Regions from separate parts of the Homo sapiens genome. Here regions 2 and 3 are each linked to region 1. Evidence: promoter capture Hi-C in human tissues and cell types (Jung and others, 2019). All regions are on one chromosome and are shown on one strand. The core of a region is centred on a gene start or on the middle of the fragment in contact, and the rest is flanking DNA. Distances in the headings are between cores, read along the strand shown.

What was found. The method cuts DNA at HindIII sites, captures the fragments that hold promoters and counts their contacts. A contact is called where the count stands out against the background at its distance.
Region 2: a fragment that was not itself captured here is called in contact with the fragment with the promoter of CDKN2B in region 1 in 3 of the 25 tissues and cell types used here (bladder, lymphoblastoid cells and thymus).
Region 3: a contact is called between a fragment that was not itself captured here and the fragment with the promoter of CDKN2B in region 1, in 3 of the 25 tissues and cell types used here (H1 embryonic stem cells, mesenchymal stem cells and mesendoderm cells).

Annotation. Positions count from the first base shown.
Region 1 is chr9:22,006,542-22,011,369 of GRCh38, forward strand. It overlaps CDKN2B (cyclin dependent kinase inhibitor 2B), which reads right to left and starts at 2,764. Exons shown (of 2, transcript NM_004936.4): 1 at 2,257-2,764. The coding sequence starts at 2,412. All of the region lies in intron 1 of CDKN2B-AS1 (CDKN2B and CDKN2A antisense cis and trans regulatory RNA 1), which reads left to right. RefSeq lists silencers at 2,106-2,305, 4,429-4,723. The HindIII fragment of the contact is 12,658 bases long and covers 1-4,828 here.
Region 2 is chr9:21,890,622-21,895,449 of GRCh38, forward strand. It overlaps a transcript of MTAP not described here. Among named protein-coding and RNA genes, the nearest start is that of CDKN2A-AS1, 74 kb to the right of the region's middle. The HindIII fragment of the contact is 3,541 bases long and covers 362-3,902 here.
Region 3 is chr9:22,094,660-22,099,487 of GRCh38, forward strand. CDKN2B-AS1 (CDKN2B and CDKN2A antisense cis and trans regulatory RNA 1) reads left to right here. Exons shown (of 19, transcript NR_003529.4): 13 at 1,713-1,855; 14 at 2,599-2,705. Among named protein-coding and RNA genes, the nearest start is that of CDKN2B, 88 kb to the left of the region's middle. The HindIII fragment of the contact is 5,121 bases long and covers 1-4,828 here.

The sequences.
Region 1 (4,828 bases), core at 1,514-4,013:
TTGATTTCCATTGGAACATGGGAATCTATTTTGTTAAATGATTTAGGGGCAGAGTTAAATTTATTCGGCTTTTAAAGTTTTAAATTATTTGCCTTGCTGACCCCTCCTCCATAATCCAGGTCTACAAATATTTATTAGGTAGTCAACTACTGTTTGTTAGAAGTTGGGAGTAATGGTTTAGGGGAGAAAATAAACAACTAAGTTTTTTTCTTTCTTTTTTTTTTAATTTATTTAGTTCTCATAGCAAATCCCGTGCGGAAGGCTTTTGTTTGTCATGTGTCTGAGCTCATAACTGGCTTGTAGTGTGATAATTTGAGCCAAAGTTGGAGATTAGAAGGGAAAAGTAAATTAAATCATGCAAAATCTTATAAAATTATAATAAATGATTTTTCCTTAACAGTTCATCATTTTAAATTTAGACTATAATATTTTTAATGTAATATAAAACTAACTATATTTGTATACTACAGGATTTTATAATAGCTAAGATTTAAAAATGTTAAACAGTAAATATTTTGCTATATAAAAAGAGCTTGGGCCAGGCCCAGTGGCTTATGCCTGTAATCCCAGCACTTTGGGAGGCCATAGCAGGCAGATCACCTGAGGTCAGGAGTTCGAGACCAGCCTGGCCAACATGGTGAAATCCCGTCTCTACTACAAAAAATAAAAAATTAGCTGGGCATGGTGGGGCGTGCCTGTAGTCCCAGCAACTCAGGAGGCTGAGGCAGGAGAATCGCTTGCATCCTGGAAGAGGTTGCAGTGAGCTGAGATTGTGCCACTGCACTCCAGCCTGTCCGACAGAGTGAGGCCTCATCTCAAAAAAAATAAAATAAATAAATAAATAAATAGAGCTTGGATGTTAGCAGTCAATCAGGATGATGCATAACTTAGAAAAAATGATGTTTTGCAGGAGTAATCCTGTAGCAGCCATTTGTGTACATGAACATTATGAAAACATTTGCTGTCATATTTAAAGTCAATTATAAGACAATTTTTGGTAACTAAATGTCTAAAATCGAGTTATTTGTTATGGGTTTATGCACTTTAAAATATACCATTTAATTGAAAGGCAGTATACTTCTCATGTTTTGTTGGCTTGTTTCATTAATATTAGAAATGTTCATTTCATCTCTTAAAAACCGTGATAAGTTATATCTACTAGTGATGTAAGGATATTTTACATAGAAAAAAAGGGGAAAATAGCTGCTGTTAGTATTTCAGAAAATGGTGAATTACATATATAACTTGTTTTTATAATTATTAATAAAATTTTAAGTTTTTAAGATGCACTTTACAATATTTTTGCTCCTTTAAAAATCCCTCATTTGTTATACCATTATTCTAAGAATTCAAAAGAAATGAACACTTCTTTAAAATCTATACTATTAACAAGATCCCTTAATATTAGCTTAGTTTTAGAGGGTGATAGTGAGGTGAGTACTGAATATGACCACTAGCCAACGGTAAAGTACAAAAGAGTTGTCCGAGATTGTAAAAGAAATAAAAAATATCAGTACTAATTAAAGCAGGATTCGTACTTAAACATTGAATAAGTGTATTTTAACAATGAAGATAAAGATGCATTATTTATGAAGATCCTTTGCCATTCAAAAAGGACCTAACAGTTGCTGCAGGAATATTTTTGTAATCTGGGCACTGAGTATGATAATTAAAGAATGAGAAACCTATAGAACTATATATTTTTTCTCTTATGCATCACTCATAAGACACTGCTAACATAAAAGGAACTAAGTACTGTGGTTGAGGAATCCCGTCTCATTCTCAATTAACCTCTATGAGAAAACAATACAACAGATTTCATATAGTAGCTTAGAAGTTTACATTGATTTTTTCCATGTACTATGATTTTGTAGAATTCCTTAAATCCAATCTAGAATGCGTAACTTATACTTTACTTATCTTTATCGTTGAAAGCAGACAGACAAGATAATCTTCTTCCCTAAATAAGCTTTCCTTTTCTCCTTTTCTCCCCAATTCAGTCTATTCCTTGCATCTCTGATCATGAGATGGCAGAACAAAAACCACTAAAAAAAGCTTAAACAGTGGGTTTTTCAATGTCTCTCTTTAGGATTTTTGCTGGGTAAAAGCCTGTTTTACGCGTGGAATGCACACCTCCGGCCAACGGAGACTCCTGTACAAATCTACATCGGCGATCTAGGTTCCAGCCCCGATCCGCCGAGGCCGCGCCCCGCGTTCGCGCGCCCCCTGCCGGCGAGGCCCTGGGGCCCCAGCTACCTGGATCGCGCGCCTCCCGAAACGGTTGACTCCGTTGGGATCCGCGCCGGCTTCCAGGAGCTGTCGCACCTTCTCCACTAGTCCCCGCGCCGCGGCGCTGGCCAGACCCTCATCGCTGCCGCCCCCACTGGGCATGCCCTTGTTCTCCTCGCGCATTCCGCAGCCCCCAGACGCGCAGCGGCCCGGATAATCCACCGTTGGCCGTAAACTTAACGACACTCTTCCCTTCTTTCCCACGCTGCTCCGGCGCACTCTCTCCTTCCTAGGAGACCTGGGCTCAGCTTCATTACCCTCCCGTCGTCCTTCTGCGGCTTGGGGCCCCGTGCAGTGGCCGAGCGGCCGGTCGTTAGCTCCGGGCTTTTCCTGGCGCTCAAGAACCAGCGGGCGCGCCTGGATTGCTTCTGGGAAAAAGCGCCTAGCGCGGACGCAGCCGAGCTCAAAGCCGCTCTGGCCGCAGGGTGCGGACGCGTCGCGGAGTCCTCACTGCCCCGCCTCGCTCTGGCAGAGTGGGGAGCCAGCCGGCAAAGAATTCCGTTTTCAGCTGGGCCAAGGGGCCGGCGTCTCCCCACCCCCTTAGGCTCCGCCCCCTGTCCGCTGTGATCGCCGGGAGGCCAGGCCCGGGCCGACGCGTCACGAGGGCGGGGAAGCCTGCCCAAAGATGCTAGGACGCATGCGCCAGAGACTGGGCCAGGGAGCCGCCAGGAATGCTGGCTGCACTGCTCGCTGGATGTCCAGTAAAGCCAAGGCTAATATTTTGGGAATGTTCACCACTGCCCTCAGCTCCTAATCCCCAGTAGGCGGAGCAGAGGATTTCTGTTCCTTCAGCCAGCCAGTTGGTTTCACTGTGGAGACGTTGGTGGCTCCCTTGTGACCGAGAGAAAGTCATTCAAAATAACTCCGTGTTTCTTAAGATGTCTGAAAGCGACAGCTCTGCACCTGTCATACAAGTTAAATTCATCCCCAGGCAGTACTTGGGCTTCACAAGTTTCATAACTTGTATCAAACTTAGCAATTTTCTCTTGGATGTGTCTTTCTGTTTGAATTAGTCAACCATAAAAATAGAGAAAAATCCCGAGAATCATGTTTTGCGTGTGCTTTTTAATTCTTTCCATTTTTGCATTATGGATACAACCCTTAAAAGAGAAAAAAACTAGTTCGAGATTGAGAGTGGCAACCTGGCACACATAAGACAAAAAAAAATTATACTTTAAGAATCTGAGATCCCAGTTTCATCATATTTGTACAGTAAATCTTTGTTTGCACTCTTACCTATTTAAACCCACTTTGTCAGGTATCTTATTTTTATTTATCATGAGTAATAAAGGAAATTTATGCAGTAATAATGAAACATCATAAGAGAGGGGTGTGGTGCTGGGCTTGTCATTAAACAGGCTGAACCTGTCATTAAATTCTCTTCTGAAGATTTAAATGCCAAGTGCTTTTTTTCCCCTTCCTAATCTTCCTAGGTGAGTTTGAATCAACATTTATTACTTAAAATATTTAAAACATTTCAGCGGATGCTACATTGGATAGGAAGAGAACCGCAAGTTATGGATTTGTTGCCTAAAAACTTTGGTGAGGAACTGCATAAGTGGACCTCTCCTAAAAGTGAACAATTTTTGTTTACAGAATCATTTTGGTTCGGAGTGCTGAGGAAGACAAAGTCTTAACAGGAGGGCAATTGCTTGTGTATTGCAAAATGAGAGTCTTCACATGTTTTTTTTAGGATACCTTAGCTCTGACTCCTCATCCCCCAAATCCCTGTAGAATTAAAAAAAGCTCTTTCTTTTAAAGGCAGTGGAAGTGCCACCACCATGGAAGTGCTGGTTAGGGCTGAAAATCTACTGACAGAGCCTCAACAGAGCTGAAATCCACCTGGACAGGGAAGGGAACCGGGTAGCATTAATAACAATTTCTTTTTCTTTCCCATCCAACCCCCATTTCCTAGTCTTCAGTTTCTTAATTTCTCTACCTTTTACTCTTATGCTCTTGTTTTGACCTTTGAGTTTCTCTGAAACTTATCAGAAAAGTTAGGACAAGATAGTCTGACCCAATTCTTGAGCCATTTTCTTAGGTAGTAAATATGTCAGAAAAATGAAAGCTGTTTGGAGTTGATAAGGAAATGGAAGATAATGTTTTTCTTTGAGGGGGACATAAAGAATGGTGATAGGGAAAGAACCAATGACTAAGTAAAATGACTGAGAATCTTGCACGAGGCAGATGTGTGAGCTTCGCGAAGCAAGTTGACTGAATGAAAAACAACTTTGGGTAGGGAAAACGTTGCCGGGGGCATTCGCGCTTACTAGCACCACGGACAGCGCTTTGCTTATACTCAGGCCTGGGTGGTCCTAACCAGCTCCAGACAGAATTCTAAAGCTTCACACTTGATCTTCCAAAGCCCCTTTTCTCCCGTCAAATAGAAAGGACATTATGGAAGCTCAATGAATTTCTTTGAAAAACCAACCTGCTCAACCTGGTTTTCAAATATGATTGGATTTTATCTAATATTCTCTGTATAAAGAATATTATATAGTCTATATTTAGAAGACGAGAAGAGAAATCAAACTTATTG
Region 2 (4,828 bases), core at 882-3,381, 120 kb before region 1:
GCTCTTACTGCTGCTTCTTCTACCTTTACATTTTGCTGGGCTCTCTAAATTCATTTCAACTCTAGGTAAGGTTAAATCCTTCTTCTGTGATCTGAATTTTCAGGTTCCCCAGTGAGGATGTGTGTTTGGAGATGGACCTTCCCCCTGACACTTTGGGCACTCCCAGTTTTTTGGCTGTCTCACAGAGCTTGCAGTGGCAAGCTGTTTCCTTCAAAAGGTCTGTGAATTATTTCAGTTTTCCTGGTACATTCTTGTGGTCGTTCTTGGAGCAAAAGTTTATGATGTAAGCCTCCACATACTGTTCTGTTCGTCCAAGTGGGAGCTGCAAGTTAGTCCTGCTTTGTAGCCACGATTTTCCCCAATATTTTGCATTTCTGATAGTTGCCGTGAGACTTTGATGTTGCTGGTCTAGGAACCGTAGTTTGAGAACAACTGTTCTAGCATAATTGAAAGAAGGTTATCTGGCCATAGTCAAACCATCAAGGGAACCAACAAATATAAAAGCAAAAATTCCCAACCAAAAGGCAGTAAGTTCGAAGATTCAAGAAACATCAAGCCACACAGATGAAAAAGAACCAGAAGAAAAACAATGGAAATTCAAAAAGCCAAAGTGTCTTCTTACCTCAAAATGACCACACTAGATCCCTTGCAATGTTTCTTAACCAGGCTGAAATGGCTGAAATGACAAACATTGAATTCAGAATCTGGATGGCAATGAATATCATTGAGATTCAGGAGAAAGGTGATACCTACTCCAAGGAATCTAAGGAATACAGTAAAATGATACAAGAGCTAAAAGATCAAAATAGCCATTTTAAGAAAGAAACAGACTTATCTGATAGAGCTGAAAAACTCACTACAAAAATTCCATAATACCATCAGGATTAACAGCAGAATAAACCAAGCTATGGAAATAAACTCAGAGCTTGAAGACCAGTTCTTCAAATCAACTCAGACAAAAATAAAAAAGAATGAACAAAACCTCCAAGAAATGTGGGGTTATATAAAGGGACCAAACCTATGAATGACTGACATCCCTGGCAGAAAGGGAGCAAGAGCAAGGAACTTGTAAAATATATTTAATGAGACTGTGCACAAAAGTTTCCCCAGCCTTGCTAGAGAGGCGAATATTCAAATGCAGGAAATTTAGAGAAACCCTGTAAGATACTATACAAAATGACCATCCCCAAGACACATAGTTATCAGATTCTCCAGCGTCAACACAAAAGAAAAAAATACTAAAAGCAGCTAGAGAGAATAGGAAGGTCACTGACAAAGGGACCCCCATCAGGCTAACAATGGACCTTTCAGCAGAAACACTGTAAGCCAGAAGAGAATGTGGCCTATATTCAACATTCTTAAAGAAAAGAAATTTTAACCAAGAATTTTATCCAGCCAAACTAAGCTTCATAAGAAAACGAGAAATAAAATCTTTTTCAGAAAAGCAAATGCTAAGGGAATTTGTTACCATCAGACTTACCATACAAGTCCTAAAGGAAGTGCTAAATGCAGAATCAAAAGACTGTTACCAGCCACCATAAAAACACACTTAAGTATATAGACTGTTTACATTATAAAGCAACTACACAATCAAGTTTGCATAGCCACCAGCTAACAATACAATGACAGGAACAAATCTGCACATAGTAATATTAACCTTGAGTATAAATGGGTTAAATGCCCCACTTAAAAGGCACACAGTGGCAATTTGGATAAAGAAGCAAGACTCAACTCTATGCTATCTTCAAGATACCCATCTCATATGCAGTGACACCCATAGGCTCAAAATAAAGGGATGGAGAAAAATCTACCAAGCAAAGGAAAAACAGAGAGAAGAGTAGGGGTTGCTATTCTTATTTCAGACAAAACAGACCTTAAACCAACAATGATAAAAAAAGACAAGGGCATTATATAATGATAAAGGGTTTAATTCCACAGGAAGACTTAATTATCCTAAATATATATGCAGCCAATACTGAAGCACTCAGATTTATAAGACAAGTTCTTAAAGACCTTGATTCCACAAAGAGACTTAGATTCCCACAAAATAATAGTGGGACACTAAAACACCCCACTGACAGTGTTAGACAGATCATTGAGGCAGAGAATTAACAAAGATATTCAGGACCTAAACTTGACACTTGAACAAATGGACCTGACAGACATCTGCAGCACACTCCACCCAACAACAACAGAATATACATTCTTCTCATCTGCACATGGCATATAGACTAAAATGAACCACATCTTGACCATAAAGCAATTCTCAACAAATTCAAAAATAAAATCATACCAACCTACACTCTCGGACCACAGTGCAATGAAAATAGAAATCAATAGTGAAAAGATATTTCAAAATTATACAATTACATGGAAATTAAACAACCTTCTCCTTAATGGCTTTTGGCTAAGCAATGAAATTAAGGCAGAAATCAAGAAATTCTTTGAAAATAATGAAAACAAAAGTACAACATACCAGAATCTCTGGGACATGGTGAAAGCAGTGTTAAGAGGAAAATGTACAGTGCTAAATGCTGACATTAAAATTGCCAATCCAATTACCTCCACCTGGTCCTGCCCTTGACACATGGGGATCATGGGGATTACAATTCAAGGTGAGGTTTGGGTGGGAACACAGATCCAAACCATATCAGCACTGGTACAAAAACAAAAACACAAATAATCTCAAATAAACAATCTAACATTATACCAAGAGGATGTAGAAAAACAAGAGCAAACCAACCCAAAAGATAGAAGGAGAAAAGAAATAACCAAAATCAGAACTTAACAAAGTTAATGTGCAAAATACATACAATTGTTTTCAAACATCAATGAAACCAAACGTTGGTTTTCTGAAAAAATAAATAAGATTGAAAGAGTGCTTGCTAGACTTACAAAAAAAGAGAGAAGATCTAAATAAAGACAATCGGAAATGACCAAAGGGACATTACCATCAACCCCACAGAAATATAAAAAACCCTCAAAGACTAAATGAACACTTCTGTGCACATAAACTAGAAAACCTAGAAGGAATGGATAAATTCTGGGAAACGTACAACCTCTCAAGATTAAACCTGGAAAAAATTGAAACCCTGAACAGACCATTAATGAGTTCCAAAATTGAATCAGTAACAAAAACCTGTCAAACAGAAAAAGCCTTAGATTAGATGGATTCACAGCTGAATTCTACCATATGTAAAAAACAAAAGGTATTACCAATCCTACTGAAACTATTCAAAAAAAAAAAAATCAAAGGAGGAGGGACTCCTCTCTAACTTATTCTATAAGGCTAGCATCATTCTGATACACACACACACACACACACACACACAGAAATTCTGGCCAACATTCCTGGTGAACATGTATACAAAAATACTCAACAAAATGCTAGCAAACGAAATCCAGCATTGTATCAAAAAGCTAATCCACCATGATCAAGTAGCCTTTATTCTTGTTCTGCAAGGTTGGTTCAATGTACACAAATCAATAAATATGATTTGTCACAAAAGCAAAGCAAAAAACAAATACCACATTATCATTTCAATAAATGCAGAAAAGACTTTTGATAAAATTCAACATCCTTTCATGTTAAAAAAAAAAAAAAAAAAACTAGGTATTGAAGTAGCATACTTCAAAATAATAAGAGCCATCTTTGACAAGCCCACAGCTAACATCATACTCAACAGGCAAAAGCTGGAAGCATTCCCCGTGAGAACTGAAACAAGACCAAGATGCCCACTCTCACCACTCCTAATCAACATAGTACTGGACGTCCTAGCCAGAGCAATAAGGCAAGTGAAAGAAATAAAGGTTTCCAAATAGAAAAAAAAGAAGTCAACTATCTCTCTTCACAAACATGATTTTGTACCTAGAAGACTCCATAGTGAACACTGCATGTTCTCACTCATAGGTGGGAATTGAACAATGAGAACACTTGGACACAGGAAGGGGAACATCACACACTGGGGCCTGTTGTGGGGTGGGGGGTGGGGGAGGGATACCATTAGGAGTTATACCTAATGTAAATGACGAGTTAATGGGTGCAGCACACCAATATGGCACATGTATACATATGTAACAAACCTGCACGTTGTGCACATGTACCCTAGAACTCAAAGTGTAATTAAAAAATATATATATATAAAAGAAAACTCCATAGTGTCTGTCCAAAGCCTCCTGCATCTGATTAAAAAAAAAAACTTCAGCAACATTTTAGGGTACAAAATCAATGTATAAAACTCAGCATTTCAATACATCAATAACATCCAAGCTGAGAGCCAAATCGTGAATGCAGTCCCATTCACAATAGCCACGAAAAGAATAAAATACCTAGTAATACAGCTAACCAAGGAGGTGAAAGTTCTCCACAAGGAGAATTACAAAACACTGCTCAAAGAAATAGAGATGATACAAACGAGTGGAAAAACATTCCGTGCTCATAGATAGGAAGCATCAACACCATTAAAGTAGCCATACTGTCCAAAGCAATTTACAGATTAAATGCCATTCCTATCAAACTGCCAATGACGTTTTTCATAGAATTAGAAAAAACCATTCTAAAATTCATACAGAACATGAAAAAGCCAGAATAACCAAAGCAAGCCTAAGCAAAATGAACAAAGCTAGAGGCATCAGACACTACCTGACTTCAAAGTACACTACAAGGCAACAGTAACCAAAATAGCATGGTACTTGTATTAGTCCATTTTCATACTGCTATAAAGAACTGCCCCAAGGTTCCAAGATGGCTGAATAGGAACAGCTCCAGTCTGCAGCTTCCAGCATGAGCAATGCAGAAGACCAGTGATTTCTGTATTTCCAACTGAGG
Region 3 (4,828 bases), core at 1,277-3,776, 88 kb after region 1:
CCGTCAGGTCCTTTAAAGACTTCTCTGCGTTGGTTATTCTAGTTAGCCATTTGTCTAATTTTTTTTCAAGGTTTTTAACTTCTTTGCCATGGGTTCGAACTTCCTCCTTTAGCTTGGAGTAGTTTGATCATCTGAAGACTTCTTCTCTCAACTCGTCAAAGTCATTCTCCATCCAGCTTTGTTCCATTGCTGGTGAGGAGCTGCATTCCTTTGGAGGAGGAGAGGCACTCTGATTTTTAGAGTTTCCAGTTTTTCTGCTCTGTTTTTTCCCATCTTTGTGGTTTTATCTACCTTTGGTGTTTGATGATGGTGACGTACAGATGGGGTTTTGGTGTGGATGTCCTTTCTGTTTGTTAGTTTTCCTTCTAACAGTCAGGACCCTCAGCTGCAGGTCTGTTGGAGTTTGCTGGAGGTCCACTCCAGACGCTGTTTGCCTGGGTATCAGCAGCGGAGGCTGCAGAACGGCGAATGTTGCTGAACAGCAAATGTTCCTGCCTGATTGTTCCTCTGGAAGCTTCGTCTCAGAGGGGTACCCAGCCGTGTGAGGTGTCAGTCTGCCCCTACTGGGGGGTGCCTCACAGTTAGGCTACTCGGGGGTCAGGGACCCACCTGAGGAGGCAGTCTGTCCATTCTCAGATCTCAAACTGGTTTCAAAGAACATCTTTATTTCTGCCTTCATTTTGTTATGTACCCAGTAGTCATTCAGGAGTGGGTAGTTCAGTTTCCATGTAGGTGAGCGGTTTTGAGTGAGTTTCTTAATCTTGAGTTCTAGTTTGCACTGTGGTCTGAGAGACAGTTTGTTATAATTTCTGTTCTTTTACATTTGCTGAGGAGTGCTTTACTTCCAACTATGTGGTCAATTTTGGAATAAGTGCAGTGTGGTTCTGAGAAGAATGTATATTCTGTTGTTTTGGGGTGGAGAGTTCTGTAGATGTCTATTAGGTCCGCTTGGTGCAGAGCTGACTTCAATTCCTGGATATCCTTGTTAACTTTCTGTCTCGTTGATCTGTCTAATGTTGACAGTGGGGTGTTAAAGTGTCCTATTATTATTGTGTGGGAGTCTAAGTCTCCTTGTAGGTTTCTAAGGACTTGCTTTATGAATCTTGGTGCTCCTGTATTGGGTGCATACAGATTTAGGATAGTTAGCTCTTCTTGTTGAATTGATCCCTTACCATTATGTAATGGCCTTCTTTGTCTCTTTTGATTTTGTTGGTTTAAAGTCTGTTTTATCAGAGACTAGGATTGCAACCCCTGCCTTTTTTTGTTTTCCATTTGCTTGGTAGATCTTCCTCCATCCCTTTATTTTGAGCCTATGTGTGTTTCTGCACATGGTGATGGGAGGTACTGGTATTACAAAAAGCTTCTCCCCCGTGGGTCAAATCTAAGCTGAGTGTTGAGACATAATTGAAATTCACTAGATAGATAGGAGATAGGGGTAGGGAATTCTAATCAGAGGGAATAGCACATGTAAGGCAAACAATACAGTGCATCTGGGAAAGCTATACAATTTTATTGTTATAGGACAAATGTTGGGGAATGTTGAGAGATGGAACTGGAGAGTGAGGCAGAAGTTAGCATTTATTCATTTATTCAGCAGACCTTTATCTATTACCTACATTGCACTAAGTACTGTGTGAGCATTAGAGAGAAAAAGATGAATGAGATTGGACACCATTCGTTCATTCCTGACTATGAACTTGGCATTGTTCTAGGTACCAGAGATATAATAATGAGAAACAGACATGCTCCCTCCCCTCATTGAGGTTACAGCTTAGTGTGGAGACACACAGATGCCTAACGCACTATGGTATGGAAGGTGCTATGGACACAGTGCTCAAATCCATGATCTACATAGGTATGAGAGTGACTTTTCTACAACTTAAATCTGATCTTGTTATTCCCTGCTTAAAATCCTGCAGTAGCTCCCAGTAGTGCCTTCTGGTTAAAATACAAGATATATAGTATGACCTCTCAAGGACCTTTGTTATTTGTCTCTGGCCACCTCTCCAATTTTTCACCATGACCCTGGCCCTGTCCCACTGGCATTCCATCTCCAATCACACGGAACTATGTGGAGTTATTAAAATGCCCTATGTTATTTCAAGACTCAGAGATTTAGTGCCTCAGCCTGTTTTGTTCCCTCTCCCCTCCTCCACCTGGCCTTCTCCAGCTCACTCATCAATCTATTAGACTCAGGCATCATCTGCTTGCCTTCGTAACCCTCCCCACCCCGCTCACCTTGCTGGATTCTGTGCCTTTGCTTGCTGGTTCCCAGAGATCCCTGCCCTTATTTTTCTTTGCCTGCTGGATTTGCAGTGTTGTGTCCTATATGGTGTAGAAAACCAGCTCAGGCTCCCACTTCTCTGGGCTTATGTGGTCAGATGCAGACCTGTCTTCCATCCATACCAAAGGCCATCAGGGAGTTTCTTTTGTCCTCTTCACCAGCCCATTCTTAATCTTTCTGATAAATTTTCTGCACTGTGTGCGCGTGACAAATTGGGTCAAGGTGATGGTAATTTACAGCATGAGATGGTGAACTTGCTGCCTGTGCTGATGAGCCCATTGGATTTCCCCTAACTAGTCTGTTTCCCTACCCAGGTGGAGAACTTCAGTAGAGGAAGTGGCAGGAATTTGGGAATGAGGAGCACAGTGATTAAACTGGGGCCATTCATATGAGAGTTTAAGAACTCAGACCAGTGACTTAGGTGAGTAAAAATATCAGAAAAAGGGAAAGAGGATAAGAGCAACTTGGGCCATAATTAAACTTGTCAATGAAATGAAGGTCTGTTATTCTAATGCCTACATTTTGCCAAACCTTTGTGCTTATAACTTCATCATTTGCTGTGATTAACAAAGTTGAAAGAATAATAACTACTTACAAGGCCCACATCACCTCCTTATACCACTAGCTTTTGCTTTCCGTACAGACATAGCTTTAAAAAGTGCAAATCCTATTCTGTACCTGAGCCACAACCCTAAAAGGGAACTTGTTTACAATTCTAAGAATAATATTGTCCTTTAAAGGTGAAGGCTCGCTGGAAAACATGCCATTCATGTGATAAAAAGCAGGTAGCAGGTAGTGCTAAAGACTTACTAGACTGCATGTTTGTGCTTTCTGCTGCATTCCTCTAATCTCAAGGCAGTATAAGGAGATAACATCTTCACAGCCCTTTCAGCCCTGTTGCAATTTCTTTGACCCTGGCCTGATATAAAAGGCAAACTTGGTTTTTCACTGTTCTAGTCATGCAGTTTCTTTGTGGTTCCCTTTAGAAAGACTTGAGGCTATGAGTCAAAGCTTTTACGTCTTGCTGATAGTTCAGAGTTGTGATGTGAAGCAATAAATAAAATCCCTCCTTCCACATACTTGTCTCCTTGATTAGAATCATTCTGGGCAAATTTAGAGGCTCATAAAGTCCATTTAGATATTTAGTGAAAAAACACCAGCACTCAGAACAGAATGTTGATAATGTAGATGGAATATCTTTCTCTCTCTGTCTCTGTGTGTGTGTGTGTGTGTGTGTGTGTGTATTTATATATGTGTGTATTTATATTATATATGTGTATATTTATATATGTGTGTGTATACATTTATATGTGTATATGTATTTATAGTAAATATATCACATGTATTTATATATAGTAAAAAAGAGGGGACTATAATATATCTTTATATGTTAGCATTTATTTTAAAAAGAAAACACAGGAATATCTAAAAGAAACTATTACTTATAGGGGTTATGGGAAATGCCATGGGCAAGAATTTTTTTTTTTTTTATCACCATGCTTTCTGAAACAACACGATATGTATCACCTTTATAAAAATAAAATAAAATAAAAAATGAAAAACAAAGTCCACTTGTAACCACATGTCAGTAGCATGTTTGCTTTCAGGGTACATCAAATGCATTCTATAGCACAGGATGTTCCAGTCACTCTAACAAAAGATGTCCTGTTTGGAACACCAACTCTGTATCAGTTACTTCAGACACTTTCTCTCATTGAGTCCCTTCAGCAAGCCCTTTTAGGTTTATGTTCTTAGATGAGGAAACCAAGTCTTAGAAACATTAACTGGCCAAACTAAGATCAGAGAGTTAGAAATGTCAGAGCCCAGAACTGGCATCTTCTGACTTCAGATCCCATGTACTTTCCCCTACACTGTGCTGACCACACCTCCATTACTACAGATGTGTTGATTACATCTAGGGGCCAAAGTACACATTCATCCAATAAATGCTTACTGAATGCTTACCGTGTTCAGGGCACTGTGGCAATCTTTTGTAATGCAAGAAAAATAAGAGTAGTGAAGACAGTCAAGGAAACAAAGAAGCCTAATACTAGGCAAGAAGTGCTTTTGATGGAATTAAGCACAATGAGGGTGTTAGTACAGAAAGGACATTTAATTGAACTGGGAAAGTTCATGGCAGTTTTCCCAGAGATGAGTCTTGAAGGACAAATGGTATTTAGCCAGGAGGAAAGGGGGTCAAGTGTATTCCAGGGAGAGGGAACAACATGTACAAAAGCACAGTTTTGAAAGAACACTCCATTTTTGAGGAATAGCCAATAGCTGGGCACGTCTAGAGCATAGGGTAGTAGAGAGAAAGGAGGCCGGAAATGGGAAGAGACTTGAATGCCACATTCAGTTATGTGGACTTCATCTTGTAGCAATGGGAGCCTACAAAATTTTAAGTAGAGGAATAAAAAGATTCCATCTAAAACTTAGAAAAATTACTTTGGCAGGATAAGAGACAATGAATTGACGGGGAGCTGGGTTTGATAGCAAGAAACTGTTTGGGAGACTGTTCTAATTACATATTTTCTTGTTTTTAGA